4 separate regions of the Homo sapiens genome follow, and all the other regions are linked to region 3. Evidence: promoter capture Hi-C in 16 types of primary human blood cells and fetal thymus (Javierre and others, 2016). All regions are on one chromosome and are shown on one strand. The core of a region is centred on a gene start or on the middle of the fragment in contact, and the rest is flanking DNA. Distances in the headings are between cores, read along the strand shown.

The links. The method cuts DNA at HindIII sites, captures the fragments that hold promoters and counts their contacts. A CHiCAGO score of 5 or more calls a contact.
Region 1: a contact is called between a fragment that was not itself captured here and the fragment with the promoter of OXSM in region 3, in 1 of 17 cell types (activated CD4 T cells). The highest score is 9.9, in activated CD4 T cells.
Region 2: a fragment that was not itself captured here is called in contact with the fragment with the promoter of OXSM in region 3 in 1 of 17 cell types (total B cells); the score reaches 8.3 in total B cells.
Region 4: a fragment that was not itself captured here is called in contact with the fragment with the promoter of OXSM in region 3 in 1 of 17 cell types (M0 macrophages); the score reaches 6.7 in M0 macrophages.

What each region holds. Positions count from the first base shown.
Region 1 is chr3:20,034,668-20,037,407 of GRCh38, reverse strand. No RefSeq gene overlaps it. Among named protein-coding and RNA genes, the nearest start is that of KAT2B, 4.4 kb to the left of the region's middle. The HindIII fragment of the contact is 3,574 bases long and covers 1-2,740 here.
Region 2 is chr3:31,229,998-31,232,697 of GRCh38, reverse strand. No RefSeq gene overlaps it. Among named protein-coding and RNA genes, the nearest start is that of MIR466, 70 kb to the right of the region's middle. The HindIII fragment of the contact is 7,716 bases long and covers 1-2,700 here.
Region 3 is chr3:25,788,532-25,791,426 of GRCh38, reverse strand. It overlaps OXSM (3-oxoacyl-ACP synthase, mitochondrial), which reads right to left and starts at 1,337. Exons shown (of 3, transcript NM_017897.3): 1 at 1,280-1,337; 2 at 1-437. The coding sequence starts at 406. It also overlaps a transcript of NGLY1 not described here. RefSeq lists enhancers at 1,040-1,109, 1,120-1,189, 1,329-1,858 and a silencer at 1,292-1,511. The HindIII fragment of the contact is 1,038 bases long and covers 966-2,003 here.
Region 4 is chr3:20,178,335-20,181,034 of GRCh38, reverse strand. It overlaps SGO1 (shugoshin 1), which reads left to right. Exons shown (of 8, transcript NM_001199251.3): 4 at 2,688-2,700. All of the region lies in intron 3 of SGO1-AS1 (SGO1 antisense RNA 1), which reads right to left. Among named protein-coding and RNA genes, the nearest start is that of SGO1-AS1, 5.4 kb to the right of the region's middle. The HindIII fragment of the contact is 2,324 bases long and covers 198-2,521 here.

The DNA of each region.
Region 1 (2,740 bases), core at 121-2,620, 5.8 Mb after region 3:
CTGTACTATGTGGATACCCTCCACCAAACAGCATGGCTAACCCTATTCATCTGGTATTCCTTGCTCAGAGATGCCTTCCTAAAAAAGGCAAGTTTTGTGGCCATCTATTGTTATATCATCTAGCAGAGTTTCTTGCCATATTCCTTCCTACCAAGGCTATACAGCTTCTGTAATGTACCAGTAACCCTGAATCCCACAGATGGATTGAAATTATCCCCAGTAAAGGCACAGACTGTAAGGGTACAGATCAAGTGGTCAAAGTGCAGGTTTGGCCCAGTACATGGACCATGACTGACATTCTTCCCAGACACCTGCTTTTAGAAACAGCAGTTGGATATGAGTGTAAAATAAAGAGACATGTCAATGCCTAAGTGGGGCTCCTTGGGCCAACCTTCCTCTGAGGGAAGTGGCTATAATTACTGAACATTTATTTTAAATTAAATAAAATAAATCCTCCTAGGAAAAAAGTTTTGAAAATAATAAATGAATCCTAGGATGAGGAAACATAAAATCCCCTTCCCTAGTTTTCAAGCATTTATGAATTAAATCATTTCCAGTGTGAATCTTAACCATGCCCCAAATACCATTAGTGCTTTCTTTTTTTTTTGAGACAGAGCCTCGCTTTGTCGCCTGGGCTGGAGTGCAGTGGCGCTATCTCGGCTCACTGCAACCTCCATCTCCTGGGTTCAAGCGATTCTCCTGCCTCAGCCTCCCGAGTAGCTGGAATTACAGGCGCCCACCATCACGCCCAGCTGATTTTTTATATTTTTGGTAGAGATAGGATTTCACCATGTTGGCCAGGCTGGTCTCGAACCCCTGACCTCGTGATTCACCCGCCTTGGCCTCCTAAAGTGTTGAGATTACAGGCGTGAGCCACCATGCCCAGCGCCATTAGTGCTATTTTATTCAACCTTTTTTTTTTTCTTTTTGAGGCAGGGTCTAGCTCTGTCACCCAAGCTGGAGTGCTGTGTTATGATCAAGGCACACTGCAGCCTCGACCTCCTGGGCTCAAGTAATCCTCCTACCTGAGCCTCCCAAGTAGCTGGGACTACAGACATGTGCCACCACACTCGGCTACTTTTTTTTTTTTTTCCAATTTTTATTAGAAACAAGGTCTCAATATGTTGCCCAGACTGGTCTCTCACTCCTGGCCTCAGCAGTCTTCCTGCCTGGGCCTCCCAAAGTGTTGGGATTACAGCCATGAGCCACTGCACTACCCAACCTTATTTATTTTAATTCTTAGTTATCCTTAGTAACAATCTTCTATTATTAATATGAATAGACCTAAGTATATTTGGCTAAGCCTTGCCCTTGTAAAGACAGAGGGGTTTTTTTATATTGCTTTCTGTTTTAAATATTAACGCATACTTATTTCACCAGTTTACTTACCATTTACAATGAAAGTACAATGTAAGTAAAAGAAATAAAGTCGGCTTTCTTCTGAATTCAGGCTAAATGACTTTCTACTTTTCCAAAGCAGCACATGAGAATTTATTGTTTCAAGCACCTTGAAAATTATATAAGGAAATCAAATTTCCAAAGAACCGACTTTGGTGTGACCTAGATTTTCTGGAATGATATGAACATCATAAATTGTATTCCTGTTAGTGCCAGATAATTGTTTAAAATAAACCTGAGGGATTCTAATTCCCTAAATATATAAAAACATTCATATATATAGTTTCACAAATTAGGGAAAAAATCTTTCTCAAAACAGGTTTTCTAATTTAGGGTCCCCTTATAAGGGAAGCCTTTAGTATAAAAGGCTTCAATTCCTTAATCCTAATTCCTGATTGGCTGAGCACACTGCCACTGACCTTTTAAGCCTAAAATCAAAGCACAGAGTAGTGTGTTCCAATGTATAAAATAGGTGCTATACATCAGCAAATGCTTTGGCTAAGAAAAACAAAGAAAAATGACGATTGTTCAGTATAGTAACATTATATCCCTTCAAAACCACAATAGTTTTATATTGTTATAAAATATTTCAAACATATTGAAAAATAAAGTAATATATTTGTATATTCACCAACCAGATTTTTAATGTTTTCATTTTCCATAAACATATATAATAAATATGTAATTAAAGACTGCTCTTTTATATCTCTCTTTATCTCATTTCCCAATTGCCTGCCCACCCCAGAAGTAAATATGTACGGAAGTGTATCTTTGGTCATGTTTTTTGATGTTTGCAAAATAAACCCATGGAGAAGGATCAAGTGAACTTTCACCGTTAAAGGCTAGATGAAGATATTTGAGGCTTTGTGGGACGCGGTCTCTCACAACTACTCAACTCTGCCAGGGTCTCATTTCTAGGAAAGGACATGTGTTTATCCTACATAGTTAAAAATCAAGCAAGATGTTAGTATAGAAGTACTCACCAAATGCTCCCATCTTTTTTGTTATTGTCTATAATTTTTTATCTACATTTTTATGACACAAACTGACTTCTGATTTTACCACAGTATATAAGTTTGCTAGGGCTTCCATAAGAAAGTACCACAGATTGGGTGGCTTAAACACAGAAATTTATTTCTTCAGAATTCTGGAGGCTAAAAACCCAAGATCAAGGTGACAGCAAGATTGGTTTCTTCTGAGGCCTCTCTCCTTGGCTTGTGGATGGTGGTTTTTCTCCGGTGTTTTCATGTGATCTTCTCTCTGTGTGTTTCTGTGTTCTCATCTCTTCTTCTAGGGATGCTAGTCATATGGGATTAGGGCCCACCTTAATGACCTCATTTAA
Region 2 (2,700 bases), core at 201-2,700, 5.4 Mb before region 3:
ACAGGGCAGGCAGAAGGCAAATGAGAAGTAGCTGAGAGGAACTGGCCTCATTCGGCTAGTGGCTTAAGGCGGTCTTGGTTAAAGAGGCTTTTCCTGGAGAGGCAACAGGGTTGTGGAAGCGGAAGTGCTAGCCACTAGTGTTGGTGAAAGTCAGATGCATCTTCTAGGAAGCACTTAAGGCTTTTCAGAGGCAGGATTGTCAGCTCAACCATGGCTTTCCCTGAAAAAGAGACCGAGGGCATGCAGGGGAGCTGGAGGGGGGCCTCTGTGTGACACCTGGGCATGGGGCTGTCCTGGCCGTGAGGGGTGGGGTGAGGGCGGAGGGTCAGAGGAAGCTCTCTCTAACCTTATTTCCCTTTAGTTTCTCATGGGACTACACCCTCAACATCAAGTCAGATGAGGGCAAACATGCCCTGGAGAGAGGAAATCACAGAATTTGGTTGTGTGGCTGAAGAGGGTAGTACAAGGGTGGAGAGGGACAGCAGCGTGGACTGGCAGGTAGCAGAGAGCTGGGTCTGCAGAAGAACTTCGGCATCTGCTCGGGGCTGACAAGAGGAGTTGGCTTCTTTGCTATCTGTCCTGCATAGCTGACCAGCAGGCCAAACTTACTGCAGCTTGTGGCTGGAGTGTTAGCCCTGATTTGCCTCAAGGATTCCAAGGGAGATTCATTTCCTCCTATTTTCTCTTGGGCCTCCATTCCCCTCAACACAAACCTTCTCAGCTAATCCCTCTGTGCTGGCTTCAGAAGAAACTGAGAGATTGGTGGCAAGGAGGGTTGGAAGCCAGAGGTGGTTTCTCCAAGTTGGGGATTGTGGTGTTTGAGGCATTGCCTTCCGTCTTTGGGGCAGACTGGGAACTTTGGTAGGGGGTAGCTGAGAACTGCTGCTCTACTTCATCTCTGATCATAGTGGAAACACAGGGATGGGACGTGGCTAAGGGGTCATCTTATCCAGACACCTATGCAATGCAGGATTCCACTTAATGGCTTCTTGTACAATGACTTAAGGCTCACTCCCTCTGGAAATTATCTTGGCTGAATATTTCCACCCTGCCCCCCCTCCCTCCAACAACTCTTTTCAGTTTCTTCTTACCCATCTGGCCACTCCTTAGTTTCCCCCCAATTTCCTTTTGCATGTTGGTGTTGCTGGATCTTTGTCCTTGGTCTTCCCACTGACTTCAACTGCCTCTTACAGATCCATGACCTCCAGTTCTATAGTGCCAGTCCTGATTACTCTGTTCCCTGGATGTCCTTTATGCCTCCAAACATGGCACAGCCAAAACTCCTCCCCCAGATGTTCCTCTTCTGAATTCCCCAGCTCAGTGAATGGAGTCATTTTTCACCCAGTTTGCCTAGTCCAAAATCTGGGTGCAATCAGCTACTCTCTTAAATACCGCCCCGCCTCCCCCCCACCCCCCACTGACCCCACCGCTGCCCCCTGACCCTCACCCCCAATAGTCTCACACACTCCCCAGCACCTCCACAGATACATGTCACCAGATGTGCTGATTAATTTCCAGGTGCCCTCCAGGCCCATCTCCCTCCTTGTCCTCCCTGCTCTGTGCCCCAGGAGGCTGACTTCTGGGCTGCGTCATCCAGGATCTATTGCCCTCCTGTTCTGGGTTGGGTTCTGTCAATGGGAGGTCCTGGGAAGATAAATAAGTTGATGCATTTATTATTCCTGCCCCTTCCCTACTGGGCTGTGGTTTGGCAGTGACTGCATTTCTTCCCCTAAGGTCTTGGCTCCTGTGAGCCTGCCCTCTCCCAGGAGTTCAGTCCTTTCTAAGTTCCAATAACCACTGCCTCCCCTTGCCCCTTCAGGTCTAGGGCTGGTAACAGCTTCCTGCTGTTGTTAGTGCTTCTGTGTGATTGTCCCTTTTGGTGCTTGTAACCCTGCCTACACTTTTCTGTGTATTGTCCCTTTAGTAAACTTTCTGCAGCTATATCTTTAAGCACCCTGGATGTTTCTTGCTAGGATGCTGCCAGATATATCAGGTCATGACATTACTATCTCCTTCATCTTCTTCAACTCTAACTTTGACTATTTAAAAAACAGGAAACTGGTTTTCTAAAACGAAATCACAAACAGTTCCAGGCAATAGTTCCAGCCACATGCCTCATTATTGTATCTGACCTGACTGTCTTGTGGTTCTTCTCATCAGTATGACGTAGAATTATTAGTCCCATACTTTGGCTTTGTTTCCTGCCTCAGGTAGCATTGATGGCCCTCCATACTTCCCTTCAAGTTTCCTACAGGGTGTTCACATGTACTCATTCCCTTGGATGCTTGCCTTCTCTGTAATATACAAAGTATGGGGCATGCACCATCAAAGCTGGCTTCATGGGTGTGAGGTCCTACACTTAGAAGGGCTCAGTGCTTGGGTTCTTGCTCTTCTGTTACTGTCTTGAAACTATTAATAATTTTCTTAAATTTATTTTTAATTTTTTGTGAGTATATAGCAGGTGTATGTATTTATGGAGTACATGAGTTCTTTTGATATAGGCGTGCAATGCTTAATAATCACATCATGGATATTGGGGTATCTATCTCCTCAGCATTTATCCTTTGTGTTATAACAATCCAATTATACTATTTTAGTTATTTTAAAATGTACAATTAAATTATTGTCAAATATAGTCAGCCTGTTGTGCTATTAAATACTAGGTCTTATTCATTCTATGTTTTTTTTGTACTCATTAAC
Region 3 (2,895 bases), core at 88-2,587:
GCCAGCCAGAATCCTTCATGGCTAATTCTGCAGCCCCAATGGCCATGATGGTGGGAGAAGACATGGACTTGATATCTGATTTGGACACAAAGTTTTGTTCATTGAACTGACCTTCATCACTACCTCTTGGCACATAAGCAGCAACACTGCAAGGGATACTCTTATACTCTTCACCAACCAGTGAAACAATTCCACTCTCTCCTCCGATAAGACGATCCCAAACCAGGTGAGTTCCAACACCAAGAGGAGTCACTAAGCCAATGCCTGTAATGACAACTCGCCTATGCAATCTGGATATTGGCACAGTTCCGAAAAACTTCCTTTTACTTCTTAACTGTTGGCATAATCTTGAACATAGAAGACGAGTGCTTGTAATTTTCAGGAAATTTTGCAGGCAGTTGGACATGATTAAGATTCAGATGATCAGAAACACATTCCTGTAAAAGACCACAACACACCTAGGAGGTATTCTTTTAAATAGCTTAAGGGCCTAAGGAAAAACATCCAAGGTGTTCCTTTGGGTGCTTGATATGAGCTGCTAATGAACACAGGGAAAATGTTACATACTTTCAATTTATACCTTAACATCAAACTATCTGTTTAAACTTACCTTCTTTTTTAGACCTTAAGTGCCGTCAGACATTTGAAGACAAATAAATGAATTGATGATTCATTCGAGTCACCAAAACAGTAATTCAATGAAAAATATAAAGGCACCTCCAGCCTGATTTGAGCTGCAGGAAGCATCCTTTGTCAGGATTACTGATAACTTCTTCTAAATAGCATTTCTGGTGTCAGTGGCACAGAAAACACATTTCAGGGCATATTCTTTTAAGTAAGTAAGTGGGCTTTATCAATCTTCAGTACTTAAGGATAACCAGCCTTTTCAAAACGCTACCCAGGGCCAAGAGCCCTAGACTGAGCGTCTGGATACATGGGTTGGCAATACACTCTGTGACCAAGCTTGCGATGGGGGAAGGGGACAAGTCTTTCCACTCCTCTAAACTTCTCCAATTGAATCATTGGTGGAAGGAGGGGTTACGACTAGTGGATCACTTCAAGGGTACTACGAAGGCCAGGGGCGGGAGTAAAAGAGTGTAGCCATTCCCTGTATCGCCTCTCAGGCACCACCACACATGTACACAGCCCGAAGAAGCATGGCGAGAGAAAAAGAAATCAGGCCCCAGGTCCTCGGACTCCCCTCTCGAAATTCAACCCCGACTTGATTTGAATGTAAAGGAGGAAAGGAGGGGCGAAGGAGGAGGGTAGCCAGCGATACCTGTAACGGGGCTACCCCGGACACTTCTCCACAGTCGGGGGCGATGACGCTCTCGAGCGCACGCGCACACGCACGTACGCTCATGCGCGCTCGCACGTACGCTCATGCGCTTTCCCACGCACGCGTCCCGTTCGACTCTCTTTCCGCCGGTTGACTTTAAGCCGCGTCACCTTGGCTGAGGTCAGACCGTGGGAGGCGGCTGGGTAGCTGTTTGCGTGAGCAGAGACGCCCCTCTCGGAACCTCAGTGACTCGCCGATAATCGAGGACCTGCCAATAACGCGATGAGGTAGCATTTTCACCCATCAAAAAGGCATTTTTCTTTGGCAGTGATAATGCCCAAATATTCCCTTTTGTCGGAGAAGGGACACCATCGTATTCTACTGGAATTGTAAGAAAGAATTAAGGAAATTCTCTGCAGTTTCAAAGTTATTGCTATAGCTCGCAACGTTATTAGTAATTGTGAGTAAAGTGGAATTAACCAAAATGGCCAACATCAGGAAATTTGTTGTGTATCTTGTGGTACATCCAAATGCCATGCAGCCGTTTAAAATAATTCTGCAGGTGAATATTTATTAATGAGATGTTGCGACTATTTGTTAGGAGACATAGTTACAAAACAGTATATATCCGTTTTTTCAAAAATAATTCTTTAAAGGTCTGCAAGATGTATACTGATTGTGATCTTTCCCTCCTTATTTTTGCTTAGCTTTATTTAATAAAGCTTTTCTACAATAAACAAATGTTTTTGTAATAAAGTTTTTACTTTTTAAAAGTTGTCACCAGGCTGTTCTGCCTATGGAGTAGTCATTCTTTGTTCCTTTACTTTCCTAATAAACTTCCTTTCACTTAAAAAAAAATTATCACCAGATTTGAGACAGTGCTCAAAAATTGTCTCCATTGTCACAATGGAGACATTTGTTTCTAAGTGTGAAAAATTCATTAACTGTTTGCTTAGAGCTGACTGCAAACCGATAAAGGGAAAATATAACATGAAAATGTAAAAAAGCAAGAAGTCGACAAGATGGTATTCATCGAACATCTGTTTTTCACATGCTATCCCAGGCGTGAGTTTTGTCCTTGCTCTTCTTTAGAAAAATGGTTGAGCATAGAATCTTCATCTGGACCTTCTAGTCATATTTATGGTTTTTTCTGGGCAATGCCTCTTGAAGCCATTGTTTCCAAGTAGAGTGCTCTGCATTCTTTCCTACCCCTACAGAAGAATGTGAGTCAAGCTTAGCTTTCCAGGTTGGTCCTGGATTTAAATGAGTTTGGAAATCTATTTTGTTTAAAATAATTCAGCAAAGCTCAGTTTGACCTTCGTCCCAGGCCTAACCAGTCACCTCTAGTTGATCCTCATTCAGTGACAAAGTAGAGTTTCTTGAAGAATTAAAACAAACACATGTGGTTATAAAGTAACACTTGATGAGTAAGTACCTAAACTTGATCTCTTTTCATTGCTGTCTTTAAAATAATAGTGTGAAAATACCTACAATATTTTCTCTGAAGCTGAACTCATAAGAAACATACAGTTTTAATGTGCTATTTCTTTTGTAATATCACAAAATCGTCTTGGCTAAGAGGTGACAAAATCTTTCAGAAAAATAAAAAGACCATC
Region 4 (2,700 bases), core at 110-2,609, 5.6 Mb after region 3:
CCATCTCAGCCTCCTGAATAGGTGGGACTATAGGCATGCACTGCCACACCTGTCTAATTTTTTTGTTGGGGGTAGAGACAGGATCTTGCCATGTTTCCCAAGCTGGTCTTGAGCTCCTGGTATCAAGCAATCCTCTGGCCTTGGCCTCCCAATGTGCTGGGATTACAGGCAGAAGCCGCCACACCTGGCCTAAAGCTTTTAACAGGATTAAATTTCTAGTTGTTTTGTTTTTAATGAACATTTTTAGCTTATTTATTATAATGTCAGCATATGTTCATCAAATTTCAAAAGATAATTAAATTAGAATTGGCTTCTTAGGAATTGAGTGAGAATTGTCATCTTCATAACAGAGATCTGCAAATCCACCTCTATACTTAGGTTCTTCATCTTCCCTCTTGTTACAGTGGCAGAATGGCCCCTGTTCCTACTAAAGGCAAGCACCAACCCCAGCCACTCCCCAGCCCATGCATCCAATTTTCTCTTCTCACCTCCTCTACAACTTTATTCCTGGAATATTGTTCTCTCTTCTATATATCCCCCTCTCCACTGGATCATTTCAGTCATCATAAAGATGTGCTTTCGTATCTCTCAACCTTAGAGAAAAAGTAATGAAACCTCTCCTGGTCTCATATTTCTTTATCTCCTCATTTCTTTGCTTCCCTTCACAGCAGAACTTTTTAAAAGAAAACAGTATATTCTTCACTTCCTCAGCTTCCATTCACATTTGAAACGACTCTTTTTTTTCCTTTGAGACAGAGTCTCGCTCCATTGCCTAGACTGAAGTGCAGTGGCATATCATGGCTTACTGCAGGCTTGACCTCCCAGGCTCAAGTGATCCTCCCACCTCAGTCTCCTGAATAGCTGGAACACCACCACGCCCAGCTAATTTTTTAAAACTTTTTTGTGGAGACCATCTCACTATGTTGCCCAGGTTGGTCTTGACCTCCTGGGTTCAAGTGATACCCCTGCCTCGGCCTCCCTAAATGCTAGGATTACAGGCATGAGGTACCACGCCTGGCCTGCAGCCACTCTGAATCTAGATTTTATCCTTACCATTCTGTTGTCACTGCATGTCAAGGTCACCAAAACCTCCATGTTACCAAATTCAGTGGTCACTTCTCTTTCTTCTTGACCTTGCAGTAATAATATGCAAAACAGGGACCACTCTTTACTTGACATACTTTGATCTCTTAGTTTTCATGATATCATGCTCCCCTGCTTTTCATTCTACCTTTCTGACTGTTCCATGTCGGTCTCTTTTGCTGATTTCTTCCTCATTCTACCTGTAAATGTCAGGCATTTTATTGGCCAGGCACATTGACTCGTGGCTGTAATCAGAGCACTTTGGGAGGCTGAGGTGAGAGGATCGCTTGAGCCCAGGAGTTCAAGACCAGCCTGGGCAACACAGCAAGACTCCCATCTCTACAAAATAAAAAATAAAAATTAGCCAGTTGTGGTGGCATGCACCTGTAGTCCCAGCTACTTGGGAGGCTGAGGTAGGAGGATTGCTTGTGCCCAGGAGTTCAAGGCTGCAGTGAGCTATGATAGCACCACTACACTTCAGCTTGGGTGACAAAGCAAGACTTTATTTCAAAAAAATGAATGAATGCCAGTTGTTGTAGACTCATCTTATACCCTCTCATAGCTTTATGTACTGTCTGTCTGCTGATGCCTCCCCAGTTAATAGTACAAAATCTAAAAACAAACACATACACACATATACCCACAGCCACCATTTGCTATCTCCACTTAAAGATTTATAAGGGATCTCAAACATACCTTATATAAAGCACAACTTCCCCTTGTCTCCCCCACAGATGCTGTATACTTCCTACCTTCCTTTATAAGTCTTACTCAGTAAAGTAGCCTACATGTTTGCTTAGGCCAAAACCACAAGAGGCTTTCCTCTCCCTCATTGTTCCCATCTCCATCCCTTTTCAGTCCTTGAGCTTGACCTGTCATCTCAAGGCCTTCCACTGGGCTTCACCTCCATAGCCATGACTCTAATCTTAGCTGATATCATATCTTGCCAGATATGCAATGATGACCTCTCAGCTCTTTCTACCCCCGGCCTCTTTCAATTCAGACTGATCTTTCAAAAACTTAAATCAGTTTACTTCCTTTCTTAATATTAAGTACCTTCCCATCATACTTAGACTAAAATCTAAACTCATGGCTCTCAAGGCCCTACATTATGTGGCCCCTGCATGTACATCTCCTACTGTTCTCAGTGACTATGTTCCAGCCACAACAACCTTTCTTTCCTAAACACAGCAAGATTTTTCTTATGTGTATTTGCTGTTTCCACTGCCTTCTTTTCCTCCTGTTCTTTCAGTGGCTAGCTCCTTTGCAGTCTTCTGATTTATATCACATTCACTGTATTTAAAAGAGCAATCCAACCTGAGTTACTCTCTATCACCTCACACTGGGTATTTCCTTCATGACATTTATCGCAATCTGAAATTTTGTACATATATCTTCTCTTTTTAAAATTTTACTTCCCTGCACTAGAATGTAAGCTTTAAAAGGATAAGACTTACTCTGCTTTTGAGCTGTTATAGTCTCAGTTCCTAGAACCATGGCATGGCACCATGATAGACTGTCAACAAGTGCATATTGTTGAATAAATTAATGCTTTCTTGTGAATACTTCAGTTATAACAGTGTTTTGTTTTAATACATTAACAGAACCAGGAAATAT